Regions from separate parts of the Homo sapiens genome. Here region 1 is linked to region 2. Evidence: promoter capture Hi-C in human tissues and cell types (Jung and others, 2019). All regions are on one chromosome and are shown on one strand. The core of a region is centred on a gene start or on the middle of the fragment in contact, and the rest is flanking DNA. Distances in the headings are between cores, read along the strand shown.

Region 1 (2,700 bases), core at 72-2,571, 580 kb after region 2:
GACGCGGAGAAGCCGGAGCCCCGGAAAGCCGCGCGCAGCCCCGCCAGCCGCCGCCAGCTGCGGAGGAATTCGGGCTAACTTTAAAAACCGCTGGCGTCCCTGGGCCGCCTGCCCGGGCCGCACTGGGCGGCCTCCATCGTCCCTTCCCTCTACCTGCACTGCCCCAGGCGGGAGAGAGGCCTTGGCCCCGAGGGACCAGCTGCAGCGGGCAGCGGGGTCCTGCTCCCCCAACCCCCGCCCCATGGCACGGGGCTGAACCGGTACCACCGAGGCCAAGGGCGACCACCAGGAGAGAAGACCGGCTGCCCTCGTCATGCGAATCTGTGCCCTGCGACCTCGCTGCGGCTGCTCGAGCTATGCCAGAGGTGGGGACGAAGGGCCCGCGGGGAGTGAGGTGGGCAGAGGAGAGAAGTTGGCGCCTTCCCCAGGGTCCCCACTCTGCGGAGAAGCCCGATCGCAGAACTCGGTCGGCTGCGGTTCATGCTGGCAGTCACCGCGAAATGCGCCCTCGACTCGGGATCGCACTGGAAACCTTCGCCACACTGTGCCAGGTCTGACCTCCCAGGAGCGCGCCAAGGGCCCCTCGCCCACTGCGGCCCGGCGGCCTCCTCCCCAATAAGTAAGGCCCGTGACCCCGACTCTGGAACTTTGTCCTCACAGGGAGGAGCTCCTGGTGGTCACCGATCGGCTCAGCAGCTCGGAGAGAGGTTAGGAAAATCTCTCCGGAACGCGTTGGGAGGCCCCCTCATTCCCGCCCCCTCCCGGGCGCACGGAGACCCCCGGCTCCAGGGAGCGCTTACCGATCCGGATGACGTGGGGCATCCCGCGCGAGTCCGGGATCCAGAAGGCGCACACGAGGAGCCCGGCCCAGTATTCCCAAACCAGACTCCGGAGGCGCCGCCAGGGAGCGGTCATCGTTGGGCGCCGCCGAGCGTGCCCGGGGCGCGGCCGTGGCGGGCTCCCTGGGGCGGCAGCTCTAGGCGCGGGCGCGCAGCAGCCCCGAAGGCGCCGCCTGGCCCAGCCGCCCGGCTCCCGAGCGCCGCTGCAAGTGGGGGGCGCCCCGCGGCGCCGCGCACATCTTACTGGGGGGCCGCCCCGCCGGCGCCCGCCCCGCCTGGCTGCCGCCCACGGGCTGCCCGCGAGCGAGGCTCCTGGGCTCCGCCCGGACTCCGCTCGGACTCGGCTCCGGCTCCGACTCGCGTCGGCTCGGCTCCCGCGCGGGCTCCCACCTGCCCCGGCTGCCGGGCTCTGGCGGGCGGGCTGCACGCGTCTCCGGCCGCTCCTCCTCCAGCCGCCGCCGATGCTATCGCCCGGGCTCGCACAAAGCCCCGGAGTGGAGTTGCACGCGCGCACACTCTCCCTCCCAGCCCCCTCCCCTGCGCCCTGCCTCCCGCCTCCCGCGCCGCCCGCCGCCCGCGCTCCCTCCGCGCACTCCCCCGCGCACACACACTTCACACTCACACTTGCCGAGGCGCACACTCGCGCGCTCACACCTGCGCGGGGGGCGGGGAAGGGGACCCTGGCCCCATTGTAGGGGGACGCCCGGAGAACGAGGACTCTCCTCGCTTCCCAGACGTCCCCACCCGCCCCGCCGGCCCCAGTCCCTTCTACTGCGAGGGCACGGAGCCCGGGAGCCAGGCGTGGAGCGCGAGAGCTGGCACCGCGAGCTGGGAGACGGCGGCAGCCCAGCGGCCGGACCAGCTGGAGGAGACGCGCCCGCCGGGAGCAGCGAGACCGGGAGCCCGCCGTCTGCGGAGCCTGGCCTCGCGGCTCCCACGCGGCGGGCGCTGGCTGGACGGCGGTGGCAGCGGGAGACTGACCCGGGAACCGGCTTCCCTCCCCAACCCCATTCCTCCTGGCAGCAGAGTTGGGGCTGGGGGTTCGGAGAGGCAGAATTCAAAGCGAATTGTCTACGCTGGGCCAGGGGAGCTGAGGGAGTTGGTAGAGGTGGGAGAGCCCAAGTCAGACCCCCTGCTGTGGGAAGCTGGACTTGACCGCGCACAGGTCCTGGGGCTGCGGAGGAGGAAGACCGCTCACGCCTTAGATGTAGGGGGGCGTGGGCGCCGGGCCCGCTCCCTCTCAGCCCTCTCCCGTAACTGTGCAGGAAGGGCTGGTGCCCCCTCCCTCATTCTCCTGAGAAAGAATAAAGAGAAACTGTAATTTGTCGTGGGATGGAGTAGGATCCGTGGGGGAGCAAGCTAAAGGGGTTAAAAAGAAAAACAACGTTGTTTATTAGCAATAATAATTTTTTTTCAAGTGGCGCTGGGTGTGAGGGAAGGGAAAGGCTGTGGAGCGAGGCTGGAGCAGGAGGCTGCGAATTACTCAGTTAGGCGAGTTTAATGACCTTTTTGACAGAGACAAAGCGGTGCCGATACAGTAGATAAATAAACGGATCTGTCACCGGGCAGCGGCTAGGCTGTGTGTGAATTTATTTTTCTCATTTAAATAATTTGATCTATTCTATCATTTCCAATCTTTCCCATTTGCCAGCTGTCTGGTAAGAGCATGGCCCCCAACATCTGAAGAGCAAATCTTTAATTTTCTTACAAATATTCTATGAGCCGAGCTCTCACCCGCCTGTTAATTTCCCTCTTTTTTCCCCTCCCTGTCTGGGTGCAGAGGCCCGTGGCATTGTGTGGGGATGTGAATATCTCAGTGTGGCCAATCCTGCCAATTAGGAAGGGACGCCCTCCCACCTGA
Region 2 (2,700 bases), core at 33-2,532:
CAACTTTTCCTCCTCCACTTTGAAATATAATATTTCCTTCATACTTAATCCTAGGAAATTTGGTATAAGCAAGTTGTTTGCCGAGAAGGGAGGAAAAGAGGAAAAGGAACAGAGTGGCAGAGTGTTCTGAGTCGTCATTTTTCTGGGGATTAGTGTGGTGTCCATGGGAGGCAGATTTTGCATTTTCGAAGCTCTCATATAATTATTTTCACAATTGTATTCCCCTCCAACACTTGTGAGGAGATTTATAACTTTCTTATTTTTTTCATATTTATCTATATTATTTTAGAACACCAAATTTCTAGAAATACTTCTGAGATGAGTAAGACCAATCTCCAGCTTATGTGGGAAGATACTACCATAAAGAAATTAAGAATCTGAACCTGGGCTGGACGCGGTGGCTCACGCCTATAATCCCAGCACTTTGGGAGGCCGAGGGGGGCAGATCGTTTGAGTCCAGGAATTGAAGACCAGCCTGGGAAACATGGTGAAACCCCATCTCTACTAAAAATACAAAAATTAGCTGGGTGTGGTGGTGCATGCCTGTAATCCCAGCTACTTGGGAGGCTGAGGCACGAGAATCGCTGGAACCCAGGAGGCAGAGGTTGCAGTGAGCCGAGATCGTGCCACACACTCCAGCCTGGGCGACAGAGCGAGACCCTGTCTCAAAAAAAAAAAAAAAAAAAAAAAAAAAAAAAAATCAGAACCTGTTCCTTGGGGGTAAAGAGGATGCTTGGACTAGCAAGGGGTATGATACTAGATGGTGGGCAGCTGGGACTCCTACATTTGGAAGGCACTGATTGACAAGAGAGACTGGGAAATCACCTCTCCCATTTGAAGAGATGGGGAAATTAGGGAGGTCAGGCACCCTAGTGTCCACTGGGAGTATTAAGTTCCTCTGCTGTGAAAAAAGCTTTTGGGGGGATTTGACTCCCGAGGGGCTCCAAATGGATGTGGCTTGTAAGAAAGGTCCCTGGTTATAAGAGTGAAGTGTGTAGGGGTGCGGGTCTGGCTGTGGGTGTTAGGGCGATGATGAGAGGGCCGGGCTGCTGGCTGCGGGTCTGGCTGAGCGGGCCGGGGGCCTCTCACCTTTGCGGGCCTTGTCTCCCGGGATGTTCTGGGCCCGCAGCCGTTGGTCGAGGATGTAAAGCATCTCCCCGCCCAAGTTCAAGAAGAGCAGCGGTAGCGTCCGCACCGACATGGTGCTGGAAACGAGCTGGACTGGTGAAGAGCCCCGGGGTTCGGTAGCCAGTGGCCTGAAGGCCAGGCCGCAGCGTCCCAATAGTCCGGTTGCTGGGGCAACGCCGTGACGGGAAGAGCGAGCCAATCAGAAGGCGGTTTGGTGGGAGGTGCCCTGAAGACGGGAGCTAATTGGTCTGGGTGGTGGACCGTCCCGGGGGGATTGGTCCGAGCCAGAGGCCGGCGCGGCGTTGGGCGCGGCTGGGGAGCTGTGCTTCTGAGAGTAGGTTTCCCTCGAAAGGGCGAGGGCCGGGCCAGGGCTGGGGGTGGTCTCGACACAGCCAGCCCGGCGCTTGGGACCCCGGCCGCTGGCGCGGGGCCTCAGGTTCCTATAACAGAGGAAAGCCCAGGCAGAACGGCATTAGAGCAGGCTCGGGTCAGACGGACCTGGGTTGGAATCACGGCTCGTGATTTCTTGCTGTGTGACTTCGGGCAGGGTTTGAGCCTTGGCTTCCTCTTACGTAACATGGAGCTGGCACTCACATCACAGGGCGGCTGAGAGGAATCAGTCAGATCATGGAAAGGCCCCGAAAGCACTCAATAAAAATGGTAACTGACTTTTCTTTTAGACGAGGGAAGGATCAGAAGTCCTGAGTCGTTTGCATCGCCTCCCAAAAGTTTACTTGAAGTGAAGCCCCTCCTGGTTTCATACTCCATGAAGCAAACCAGTCCCGTCCGTCCCCGTGTGTCCAGTTCCCAGAGGATGCGCCTGGGGGCTCTGGGAAGTTCCCTCCTCGACGCTGTTCCGAAGGCCTCCCAACCATTTCTTTTTTCTTTTTTTTTTTTTTTTGAGACGGATTTTGCCCTTGTCGCTCAGGCTGGAGTGCAGTGGCGCCATCTCGGCTCATTGCAACTTCCGCCTTCAGGGTTCAAGCGATTCTCCTGCCTCAGCCTCCCGAGTAGCTGGGATTACAGGCGCCCGCCACCATGCCCGGCTAATTTTTGTATTTTTAGTAGAGACGGGGTTTCACCATGTTGGCCAGGCTGGTCTGGAACTCCTGACCTCAGGTGATCTGCCCGCCTGGGCCTCCCAAAGTGCTGAGATTACAGGCGTGAGCTATCACGCCCGGCCCCAACCATTTCTCTTTGAGGGCAGCGACTCCCTTCCTTACCTCCATCTTAAGCTCCAGGATTACTTTTTGCCATCTGCTGTATATTTTTACTCTGATGAACAACCATTTCTGTAAATTTCAGTACTTCCAAAACCTACTAATTATCTTTCCCTCCAGCTACTCAAACTTGAAACTTGGGCCTTGGCTTCCAAATCTGTTTCCCAGGGTCTTTTATCAGTCATCATATTATGCTTTTTCCTCCAACACCTTTCTTACATTCATCCCTTCATTTGTTTTTCTGTCTGCATTGCTATGTTCCTCTGTATCACTGTTCTTTTCTCTCTTCTACCTTGCACTGGCTGCTAAGCTAAATGTCAGAAGACATCACTTTTTTTTTTTTGAGATGGAG

The links. The method cuts DNA at HindIII sites, captures the fragments that hold promoters and counts their contacts. A contact is called where the count stands out against the background at its distance.
Region 1: the fragment with the promoter of GRIK3 here is called in contact with the fragment with the promoter of OSCP1 in region 2 in 2 of the 25 tissues and cell types used here (mesendoderm cells and thymus).

The regions. Positions count from the first base shown.
Region 1 is chr1:37,033,194-37,035,893 of GRCh38, forward strand. GRIK3 (glutamate ionotropic receptor kainate type subunit 3) reads right to left here and starts at 1,322. Exons shown (of 16, transcript NM_000831.4): 1 at 801-1,322. The coding sequence starts at 915. RefSeq lists enhancers at 1-876, 1,451-2,012, 2,013-2,573. The HindIII fragment of the contact is 18,806 bases long and covers 1-2,700 here.
Region 2 is chr1:36,449,169-36,451,868 of GRCh38, forward strand. OSCP1 (organic solute carrier partner 1) reads right to left here and starts at 1,283. Exons shown (of 10, transcript NM_145047.5): 1 at 1,090-1,283. The coding sequence starts at 1,201. It overlaps LOC107984940 (a long non-coding RNA gene), which reads left to right. Exons shown (of 3, transcript XR_001737976.2): 3 at 290-397. RefSeq lists a silencer at 1,409-1,678. The HindIII fragment of the contact is 9,579 bases long and covers 1-2,700 here.